4 separate regions of the Homo sapiens genome follow, and all the other regions are linked to region 1. Evidence: promoter capture Hi-C in human tissues and cell types (Jung and others, 2019). All regions are on one chromosome and are shown on one strand. The core of a region is centred on a gene start or on the middle of the fragment in contact, and the rest is flanking DNA. Distances in the headings are between cores, read along the strand shown. Region 1 holds the start of DEFB127 (defensin beta 127). Region 2 has its middle 22 kb from the start of DEFB126. Region 3 overlaps DEFB125 (defensin beta 125). Region 4 has its middle 5.0 kb from the start of DEFB128.

Evidence for each region. Contacts are between HindIII fragments. The study calls those that stand out against the background at their distance.
Region 2: a contact is called between a fragment that was not itself captured here and the fragment with the promoter of DEFB127 in region 1, in 5 of the 25 tissues and cell types used here (H1 embryonic stem cells, dorsolateral prefrontal cortex, mesenchymal stem cells and 2 more).
Region 3: a fragment that was not itself captured here is called in contact with the fragment with the promoter of DEFB127 in region 1 in 1 of the 25 tissues and cell types used here (mesendoderm cells).
Region 4: a fragment that was not itself captured here is called in contact with the fragment with the promoter of DEFB127 in region 1 in 6 of the 25 tissues and cell types used here (dorsolateral prefrontal cortex, mesenchymal stem cells, mesendoderm cells and 3 more).

The regions. Positions count from the first base shown.
Region 1 is chr20:156,056-158,755 of GRCh38, forward strand. DEFB127 (defensin beta 127) reads left to right here and starts at 1,399. Exons shown (of 2, transcript NM_139074.4): 1 at 1,399-1,538. The coding sequence starts at 1,490. The HindIII fragment of the contact is 9,888 bases long and covers 1-1,769 here.
Region 2 is chr20:119,420-122,119 of GRCh38, forward strand. No RefSeq gene overlaps it. Among named protein-coding and RNA genes, the nearest start is that of DEFB126, 22 kb to the right of the region's middle. The HindIII fragment of the contact is 9,240 bases long and covers 1-2,700 here.
Region 3 is chr20:95,064-97,763 of GRCh38, forward strand. DEFB125 (defensin beta 125) reads left to right here. Exons shown (of 2, transcript NM_153325.4): 2 at 942-2,031. The coding sequence ends at 1,354. Among named protein-coding and RNA genes, the nearest start is that of DEFB125, 8.7 kb to the left of the region's middle. The HindIII fragment of the contact is 8,020 bases long and covers 1-2,700 here.
Region 4 is chr20:193,335-196,034 of GRCh38, forward strand. No RefSeq gene overlaps it. Among named protein-coding and RNA genes, the nearest start is that of DEFB128, 5.0 kb to the left of the region's middle. The HindIII fragment of the contact is 6,858 bases long and covers 1-2,700 here.

The DNA of each region.
Region 1 (2,700 bases), core at 149-2,648:
TGTCAACATCTCTCTGTTTAAACATATTCTTGTGTAAAACCACTACGTGACCTGAATAATGGCCATAGGGCTCATCTCTAAGCCAACTGGCTTATTTATTTAATGCATCTCAGTGGTTAACAGGGTTGAAATTTTTTGAAAACTGCAATCAATGATCAAAGAATGATCTAGGTAAACATCGATTCCTTGTGGCAACATTTTAATATTTTCAAAGACAAGGTACAACTGGTAGAAAAAAAATACCCTCATGCATCTTTTTCTTCTAATTGTGGTAAAATATATGACATAACATTGGCCATTTTAGCCATTTTTCCTTTTATTTTTAGTTGACACATAATTGTACTTATTTATAGGATACAAAGTGATATTTCAATACATGCATATAATGTGTAATGATCAAACCAGGGTAATTAGCATATCCGTCACCTCAAACATTTATCATTTGTATTGGGAACATTCAAAATCCTCTCTTCTAGCCTTTTAAAAGTATACAATAAATTGTAGTTAACCATATTCACCTTACAGTGCTACAACACCAGAAGTCATTCCTCCTATCTATAATTTTGCATCCATTAGCCAATCTCTCTCCATCCTCCCCTCTCCCTAATCATTACCAGCCTCTAATATTAATATCTGCAACACTACTCTCTACTTCCATGTGCTCAACTTTTTTAGCTCCCATATATAAATAGGAACATGTGGTAATCTTTCTGTGCCTGACATTTCACATAACATAATGTCCTCCAGGCTATCCATGTTGTTGCAAAGGACAGAATTTCATTATTTTTATGGGTGAATAGTATTCCATTGTGTGTGTGTGTGTATATATATATATATATATTCCATTGTGTGTTATGTATGTATAGTATTCCATTGTGTGCATATATATGTATATATGTGTGTACATATATATATACATAATATATATTCTTCTGCACATGGAAATCCAGTTTCTCCAGCATGATTTATTGAAGAGGGTATCCTTTCCCCAGTGTATGTTCTTGGTGCTTTTATAAAAAATCAGGTGACCTCAGATCAGACCCAACTACATCATACCTTCTTTCGAAATGTGCAAGAAACCTACTAGAAATTCTTATTGTTAGAGTTTCAGATTTATGTCCTGGTTTATACTGCCACATTCATTCTTGGAGGTGAGTACATTTCGATCTTGGTCCGGCTGCGCAGAGAGTCAAAGCAGGAAAATCACAGATTCTTCCCAGCAGTCTACAGCCTACACAGCGGCATTTGGTGCGATGGGATGGAACATGCTGTATCTCTATTCCATGTGGGGGTAAAGTGGGTGGCCTGAAATTTCCTGTGTCTGCCTGCATGATGCAAAGCTCACAGTTCAGAAGCTTAAGGACACACTTCATATCATCCCATCTGTTCTGGTTCAGTGCATAAGAATCTAAGTCTCTGAGGAAGGTAGCATAGTGTGCAGTTCACTGGACCAAAAGCTTTGGCTGCACCTCTTCTGGAAAGCCTGGCCATGGGGCTCTTCATGATCATTGCAATTCTGCTGTTCCAGAAACCCACAGGTAAACCAAACCAGAAGCTCACTCAAATCAACAGTGGGATGGAGCATTTTCAGGAGCCAAAGGGAACTTCATAATCCACACTAAAGGGAAATAGAGCCCCCAAAGATGGCTAAAGTTTATCCAACATCATCAGAAATTTCCTCTTTCTGGAGCCTTATTCCATGTTACTATCCTTAAAGAGGAGTACTCACTGAGCTAAAAAGAGGTCATAATTTCTTCTGGGAAAGATGTGTTGTTATAGAAAGGAATGATGCCAATATCTAGGGATACCTTTATGTCTTTGGATATGGTTTTTACTCTGATGCTCAGCTATATTTCCTTTTACTCAAATATATATATGTGTGTGTGTGTGTGTGTGTGTGTGTGTGTGCATGAATAGAGGAAGAAGCAAATTTTGGAGTTAGGTTTAAGAAACATGCCTTCAATATCTACTAGTTTGTCAACTTTAAGTAGTGAAGACTCTAGGAGCCTCAGTTTCCTCATCTATGGAGATAATGACACCTGGTTAACAGGGGTTTTATTAAATGATATAACCTATGTGAAGCTTGGCACATACTGAGAACTCAAAAATTAGAGTTTCCTTTCCTCTTTCAAAACCAGATTTCTTACATGTGTCCCTTATTATAAGAATAGTAATGGCCTATTCCTGACCCTCTACATTCCTAAGACCCAATAGACTACTACCTTACTGGATAACATGAAAGTCATTCTTGACCCTGATAGTGGGTTTGAACTCAGGAGAACAGTTTGATTCAGACATAAACACATAGTAACAATACATTGTTCTCTGGGCATCAGAGGAGGTGCAGTAGAAGGTAGTGCTCTGGGAGCATTCAGGATGCAGGCAGATTTGCTGAGGTTCCTATGTAGAGCATAGTTCCATAGCCTAGAATCAAGGGTTCAGCTCCTTTATTTTCTCAGATAAGATCTTATGTTCTTGGCAGAGTCTATCAGATGTTAAGGGAGGCCTAAAACCTCACAGGACCTAAATATAAGTGATCCAGTTAAATACAAACACTGAGGTTGACCTTGTCGGAAAATCCTCTTCAGAATATATGAGGGTCTGCCTTGTGGATACCCCATACCCCTAATTCCTACAAGCCTCCTCTGTCTTCCCCAAAACCAACGTGCCTTCAGTCTCAAACACTGATATTGTTCTATT
Region 2 (2,700 bases), core at 51-2,550, 37 kb before region 1:
TCTGGGTGACTCCAACAAGTTATCATTATAAAGTAACCCATTTTCCTCTAAGATAATTTTTGCCTTAAATACTATTTTGTTCAATACTAAGAAGTAAGATAACTTCCTTTTGTTGGTATTTGCATGTTAAGTTTTTTTCCCATATTTCCACTTTCAATCTTCTCCGTATCTTGTTTTTACATTTATCTGTTGTAAATAGCATCTAATTTTTCATCCAGTCTAGCAACTAGAGTTAATCCATAAATTTACCAATCTCTGAATAATATATGGAACATAGACCACTTTAATTCTATTTAACGCTCCCAATTGATTCTATTTTCAGAATTTTGATATTTAATTATGTTTTTAATCTTATAAAACATCTTTATTTAATTCTGCCAGTTTAATCCACTTTTATCCCTTTTTTTGTTGCTTCTTCATCACATACTTTCCATGTGTGGTCATTTTTTTAAACTAAAGAACATCCTTTAGAATTTCCTTTCATGAGATCTGCTATCTCTATCTGAAAAGGTTGTATTTATATTTTCTTCTTAAAATATTTTTGTGGATATGGATTTCTAGGATGACATTTACTTTGAAAAATACGTTGAAGAGCTCAGTCCATTGGATTATGGCTTCTATTGTTTGTGGTGAAAAATCACCTGTCAGTGTAACAATTACTCTATCAAAAGTATGGTTTCTGTTTTTCCCTCTGACTGTTTCCCACTTTTCTCTTTGTCATTTTATCTAGATGACAATTCTTATTTATTTTCTAGAATAGTATTTCTTAGATTATTTCTGAAAAAAAAGAAGATTTATTATCTTTTCAAATTTATGTAGCTTTTTGTAATTCTTTTTCTTTAATTTTCTTTCTCCTTCTCTTTGAAAATCTTATTAATCAGATATTGGCTCTCCTGGATTGACACTCTGTGTCTTATATATTTTGCTCATACTTTCCACTTGTTTTTAGACTTCAAAGATTTTCTCACTTTATCTTCAAATGTGCCTGCTAAACAATCATTTTTCTAATTTCCAAAAGTTTACTACTTCTCCTTACATAGCATGATATTATTGCTTTATGGATGGAATACACTCTTGAAACTCCAGCCCCTAAATAATAGTTATTCTAATGTGCCTTTCTTCATTTATTTTCAGTCATGTTAAAGATTTTCTCAAATAGATAGCCAGCCTAGATTGTTTATTCATATTTTACATATATACTGAGCCATTTTATGTGTGCAAACTTGTCCACAGCTTTTGTTTTAAAATGCTTGAACTGTGAAGATAGAAAAGACATGTTTGCTGGAATGCATAATACTGAAGTTTACTTCTCATAGTCTTTCTTTAGAAGTTATCGCCTAGGCAGAAAAAGAAAGTAACTAAAAAAAAAGAAAACACAATTTCCAGGTATATCTGTGCCAACTCAGGTGACTAGTAAAACAAAATTCTAAGATGACATCTGTATAGCCTACATAGGAAGCAACCAGTTCACATTATAGAAGGAAGAATGAATGTTCCAGAGACAAAATATAGTTACAATACACCCTCATCTATTGTAGTAAAAAAAAAAAAAAGCTGAAGTCTAAATTACACAAATGTAGCAGCATAATACTATTAAATAATAAGTAATTTAATATTCTATTTCATGGCATTATTTTACAGGAGCACTATTTGATCATCTTCTCTTTATCACACATACTTCTTCCATTTATCTTACAGTATCTTTACATAAACACTAAAATAGTTATACTCAGATTGTACACTTTTGAAGGGAGTTAGCCTATTTGTGTCAATTATTTACTAAAACAAAGCTAAATAACAGCAACAAAAAAGCCTTGTTGGAACAGGGACCAGGGGAATGATCAGAGCAATAAGTAGCTTGCATGAAAATATTATTAACTCTGAATACTTTCTCATTAACATTAACAGTGTGTCCTGCCTGTATATTTAATCCATTTAGAATTAAACTATTAATATATTGTGTCCTAGGATGGCAGAGTTATTAAGCAGCCCCTGTATGCTCCAGGGGATATAGGTTGATATTCTTCAGCTGTCAAAATTCTTCAGCTGTCAAAATTCTTCAGCTGACTTAAATCAGCAGTAGTGGCGTTTATCACCAGTCAACAAAGTTCTTCTATCCTTCACTTCTTTAGCCTACTCATCTAATGGATGTTGGCACGAACATGAAGTTTCTCTCCTAAATATCTATGATGTTCCACAAATCATGGGATATGCCTGCAGGCTGCCAGCACAATCAGATCTTCATGTTCCAAGAAAGGGATCATTAGTTTGGCCCTGCAAGATGTGCCACCTTTCTTGGAGAACTGAGTGTGCCACATGCAATCTGCTGAGGCATGAACGTGCTCTTGGCATTTCTGTTTATTTGCTCCTTATTACACTATATTGTGTCAGAATGATGGTTTGGGTTCAACAGTATGCTCACGTAAGCCACTATTCCAAACTTCCTAAACGCACAGTTGTGGAATGTGACACAATTGTTGGCAATGATATTTAAACAGGATATGTGTTTTTGGTGGGGTCTCTGGGAAAAATTACTAAAGGGAGGGGTGGAGTGATCCAAATATTCAAGTGGTAGACACCCACTTGACTTTGGCCTTCCACTTCCTCCTGTTTGGAATATGGTCATAATGCTGGAGGTAATGCTGCCATCTATAACAATGAAGCAAAAACACTGGATAACAGTATGTGAACAGAAGAGTA
Region 3 (2,700 bases), core at 18-2,517, 61 kb before region 1:
CTTGCTTTCCTGATTTCTACATTTCTCCACTGATTTTTTTTAAGGAGGAATTGTCTCTCAACTAAACTATTATATTCAAATCTTTGCTGGAGCTCTGCTCTGCTGGGGGTCTGCTTTAAGACTCTAGAGTCTTATTCTCCTGTTTTGATCTGACTTATCTTATTGGTCCTTTTAAGTCGTTTCCTCTTATCTGATCTCTTATCTCTTAATATTGAAACTCACTAGAATTTAATTCTAGTCCTCTTTTTTTCTCATATTATTCCAACCCACCATGGTTTACCAATTTCTGTACTTTAAATGCTATCCATAAGCAATCACATTTATTGATTTGCATATGTCGAACCAACCTTGCATTCCAAGGATAAAGGCTACTTGATCGTAGTGGATAAGCTTTTTGATGTGCTGCTGGATTCAGTTTGCTACTATTTTGTTCAGGATTTTTGCACTGATGTTCATCAAGGATACTGGCCTGAAATTTTTTTTTTCTTGTGTCTCTGCTAGGTTTTGGTCTCAGGATGATGCTGGCCTCATAGAATAAGTTAAAGCGGAGTCCTGCCTTCTCAATTTTGGGTGAATAGTTTCAGTAGGAATGATACCAGCTCTTCTTTGTATATCTGGTAGAATTCAGCTGTGAATCCATCTGGTCCTGGGCTTTTCATTTTCATCCTTTCTTTCTAGGTTTCGTATCAGTCTCAGTATGCTCTCTCTCTCTCCGTCCCTCTCTTTTTCTACATTTCTCCTTTTCTCCATACAACTTCTTTGATGGCACATAGCACAATTTTAATATACACTTTTTGTTCTCCTGTTTGTCTCTTACAATGGCTTTTTGTATTTGACATCATATTAGTCTAGATGTCAGTCAGTGTAAATTTTTGAATGAATGAAAAGTTGTTATGTTGATGCCAGAGTTAAAAATTTGACCTATATTTTATTCTCTACAGGTAGCTTTGAACCCCAAAAATGTTGGAAGAATAATGTAGGACATTGCAGAAGACGATGTTTAGATACTGAAAGGTACATACTTCTTTGTAGGAACAAGCTATCATGCTGCATTTCTATAATATCACATGAATATACTCGACGACCAGCATTTCCTGTGATTCACCTAGAGGATATAACATTGGATTATAGTGATGTGGACTCTTTTACTGGTTCCCCAGTATCTATGTTGAATGATCTGATAACATTTGACACAACTAAATTTGGAGAAACCATGACACCTGAGACCAATACTCCTGAGACTACTATGCCACCATCTGAGGCCACTACTCCCGAGACTACTATGCCACCATCTGAGACTGCTACTTCCGAGACTATGCCACCACCTTCTCAGACAGCTCTTACTCATAATTAATTAACATTTACTTCTGGTATGGAACAACTAGAAATACTGCTGGAAATAATATCCAAAGAGCTGATTCTACCAATCCAATTTCACCAGGAAAATTCCATCAGGGATTGGATGACCATGGGGATGGACATAATTGCTACTACCAACACAACAGCCAAGAGAGTTGCCTTACAATTAGAAATGTGTAGACAGAAATGTATAGAAGATACAAGGATTCTCTTAATTGGACTTAAATTCTTTATCTGTCTTCCTCCGATGTACTCAAATATATGAGCTAATTTTTGTCTTAAGTGAACATTTGTATATCTATGTATTTTTCCATGCCAAAAACAAAAACGAAGACCATTGTTTGGAGCTGCCTCTTATGACTAAGACAAGAATTTTTACTTTAACAGTGCCTGGCCCACTACTATCGTATATAGGAGAACATATAAAAGCATATAGAAAGTTCCAGATGAATGTTCCCTTCTCTACCCTCCACCTTTTATTGTAAGTTCTGACCCTAAATACTTTTCTGTGTCATGACGTCAAATTTTGTTTAAGGTTCTAGCTGGTAACTAACAGAGTCAGAAGCTAATTCTTTCATTCAACACAAGCACTGATCTAACTGGATAGAGATAAAAGTGGGACTTGCCTTGAGAGTACATCATATTAAATTAAAAGCTGCATCTCAAATTCTACTTATCTTTCCAATCTTCTTTCCACTTAGAATTCCAACTTCCAAGTATGGCAGCCTCATAACATGCCTCTTCAGGTCTCTGTGTTGTCCATGAATGTTAGTTGTGTGCAGTGTTTCTATGCTTTGTATGGCTGTACGCATGTGACTGCTGTTTGTATGGCAACAGGTGGGTCAGTAAGTGTCTTCTATGATACTACAGAGAAGCGGTTATTAACTATAAAGTTGATTAGGTTTTTTTTTTTTTTTGAGACAGAGTCTAGCTCTGTCGCCCAAGCTGGAGTGCAGTGGCATGATCTCGGCTCACTGCAAGCTCTGCCTCCTGGGTTAACGCCATTCTCCTGCCTCAGGCTCCCGAGTAACTGGGACTACAGGCACCCACTACCACACCTGGCTAATTTTTTGTATTTTTAGTAGAGAGGGGTTTCACCATGTTAGCCAGGATGGTCTCGATCTCCTAACCTCATGATCCATCCGCCTTGGCCTCCCAAAATGCTGGGATTACAGGTGTGAGCTACTGTGCCCGGCTGATTATTATTTTTTTTAAGTTCCAGGATAGAAGTGTAGAACATGTAGGTTTGTTACATAGGTATACATGTGCCATGATGGTTTGCTGCACCTATCAACGCATCATCTAGGTTTTAAGTCCCGCATGCATTAGCTATTTGTCTTA
Region 4 (2,700 bases), core at 188-2,687, 37 kb after region 1:
CGCTGAGTTTCTGTACTCCTAAAATTGGAGTATTGCAGGGGCTATTGCATGGTTTTACTAGGCCTTGGGCTTTTAGGTCCTTAAAAATATTTTAGAGTCCTTGTTGGGCCTTGGGTGTAAGGGGGTACTGCCTTTGGTAGGGAAAGGAGGTGAAATCCTTTAGTTTAACTCAAACAGAATGGGCATTCTTTGCTCGTCCATGTTGTCCTTCTGTTGCCCAGACTTCAGGATTAATTCCTTCCTCAAGCAGGGGGACAATAAACGGGTGTTCTTTCTCCTATGTTCAGGTGTATAATGGCCCCTGCTTTCGCTAGAATGTCTCTCCCTAACAAGGGAGTGGGGCTTTCAGGCATAATTAGAAAAGCATGTGAAAAGTATAAAGTTCCCCAGTCACAACTTAGTGGCTGGGAGAAGTATCTAGTGACTGGCTGTCCTAGGACCCCTTGGATAGTGACAGATCTGGAGGACAGTTGTCCGGGACAGGACAGTAAGACTGAGAAGGCTGCGCCAGTGTCCAGGAGACAGTTAGCCTCCTGGCTCTCAATGGTCAAGCATACCCGGGACTCTGTGAGGGTGATGGCATGGGCTGGAGCTTGCCCTGGGCACCCTCAGTCCTTCTGCTGGATCATCTGGTTAGTGGCTTCTGACTCAGAGGACCTTCGTCCCCTGGGGCAGTGGGCCTTCCAGTGATTCCCTTGACATAAGGGGCATGGATGAGAGGGTGGCTTATTTCTACTTGGACAATCTTTTTTAAAGTGTCCTTGTAGACCGCACTGGAAGCAAGCCCTATTAGGCATTCGATTTGCCCAGTTTTTCCCTTTTCCAAAGCCTCCTCGACTAGGAGTTCTTAACTCATAGCACAAAATTCATGCTATATGCTCAATACATAATCACTGAATGGCTGAAAAGTACTGAACAAATTACTGCTAGATAAAATACTCCAACACAGCAATAAAGTTAATTATGGCATTTCCTTTAAAAATGCTGTTTACCACTTTTTGCAATTTCTAGGCACCTAATTATAGTAATGAGGTCCCATCTAATCCAAATATCTTTCTGTGACAGTATCTGGAAGAATGTTGGAATTTCTGAAAGCTGTAGAAGTAGCCGTTGATGATTAAACTCTTATCACAACATAGTCAGGGAAAGAGTAAGGTTAGGAATTAGTATTGTATATAGCTTACTATGGATACCAGTAACCAGAGCCCTTATCCCCCTCAGTTAGTAGCTGTATACCTTGTAATCCTGGAGTGGCACAGAAAATAAAGATTGGTGAGGCTTACAGAATCTCATCAAATCATATTTATCATATGAAGACAGCTAAGTTAATGGGTGCAGGAAATTTAGCCGCACGAAGATCAGATGTGTGAATATTTATTAAGGGCTAGGTGCAGTGGCTGGGATTACAGGCGTGCACCATCATGCCCAGCTAATTTTTGTATTTTTAGTAGAGATGGGGTTTCACCACGTTGGCCAGTCTGGTCTTGAACTCCTGACCTCAGGAGATCCACCCACCTCAACCTCCCAAAGTGCTGGGATTACAGGCATGAGCCACCACGCCTGGCTTGTTTTTTTGTTTTTGTTTTTGTTTTAATTTTCTAAGTCTTTCTTGCTGAGGGTCTGTGGATCAAGGAAATACTTATTCAAAAAACAGGTATTAAGTTCCTGTTAATAAATACAAGAAGAAAAGTGCTAACTGAATCACCTGTGGGTTTAAAGACCACCATCAAAGCTACAATTTTGGAGGACAGCCAACTGCTCCCTTGTTCTGTAATTCAATTTTACTCATTGCTGTAAGGGAGTTGGTTCCATTTCTAAATAAATTAAACAGAGATAACCCAAGGATTAGATGAATATAAGTCCAGCTATGCAGGAAATCGTTTGCCACCTTAGTGCACAATAAGAACTAAGAAGTTGGACTCCAGATTAGTGTATGGGATTTCTTTTAGCTTTTTCTAACTAGAATCAAGAAAGATGAGATATTTGACTGTTCTAAACCTTTACTTCAGCCAAGTATGGTGCTCTGGAAGCTTCTCAACCCCACTCCCACTGCCTCCATGTTCAAGACCATCAAATAAGAGGGAATTTCCTCTCCAAGTAGATGTCCATCTTCTACAACATTTTTTCCTACGTCTGATAGATACACTCTAGCAGAACTCCAGTAGCATATTTCACCCAGGATACAAAGGTGTATTTGTCAGCACCAGTCCTGCTGATGTTTTTCCTCAAATTCTGCATTGTTTCTTTCCAAATCTCAAAACCTCCCAGAAAATCCTTCTTGTCTTTTAAGGCTCAGATAAAAATAAGACCTCCTCTGTGATGTCTTCCTAACTCCTCTGATAGACTTGATTAATTACTATTTTGAACCCCCACAGCTCTTTCCATTTGTATTTGTAACACTAATCCCATTCGTGTGTGTGTGTGTGTGTGTGTGTGTGTGTGTGTGTGTCTGTGTATGAATTTTTTTAGCTTTTATTTTAGGTTCAGGAGAACATGTGCAGGTTAGTCACATAGGTAAATTGTATGTCACAGGGATTTGGTGTACAGGTTATTTCATCACCCAGGTAATAAGCATAGTACCTGATAGGTAGTTTGTTGATTCCCACCCTCCTCCTACCTCAAGTAGGCCCCGGTGTTTGTTTCCTTTTTTGTGTCCAGGTGGACTCAATGTTTAGCTCCCATTATAAGTGAGAACACGTG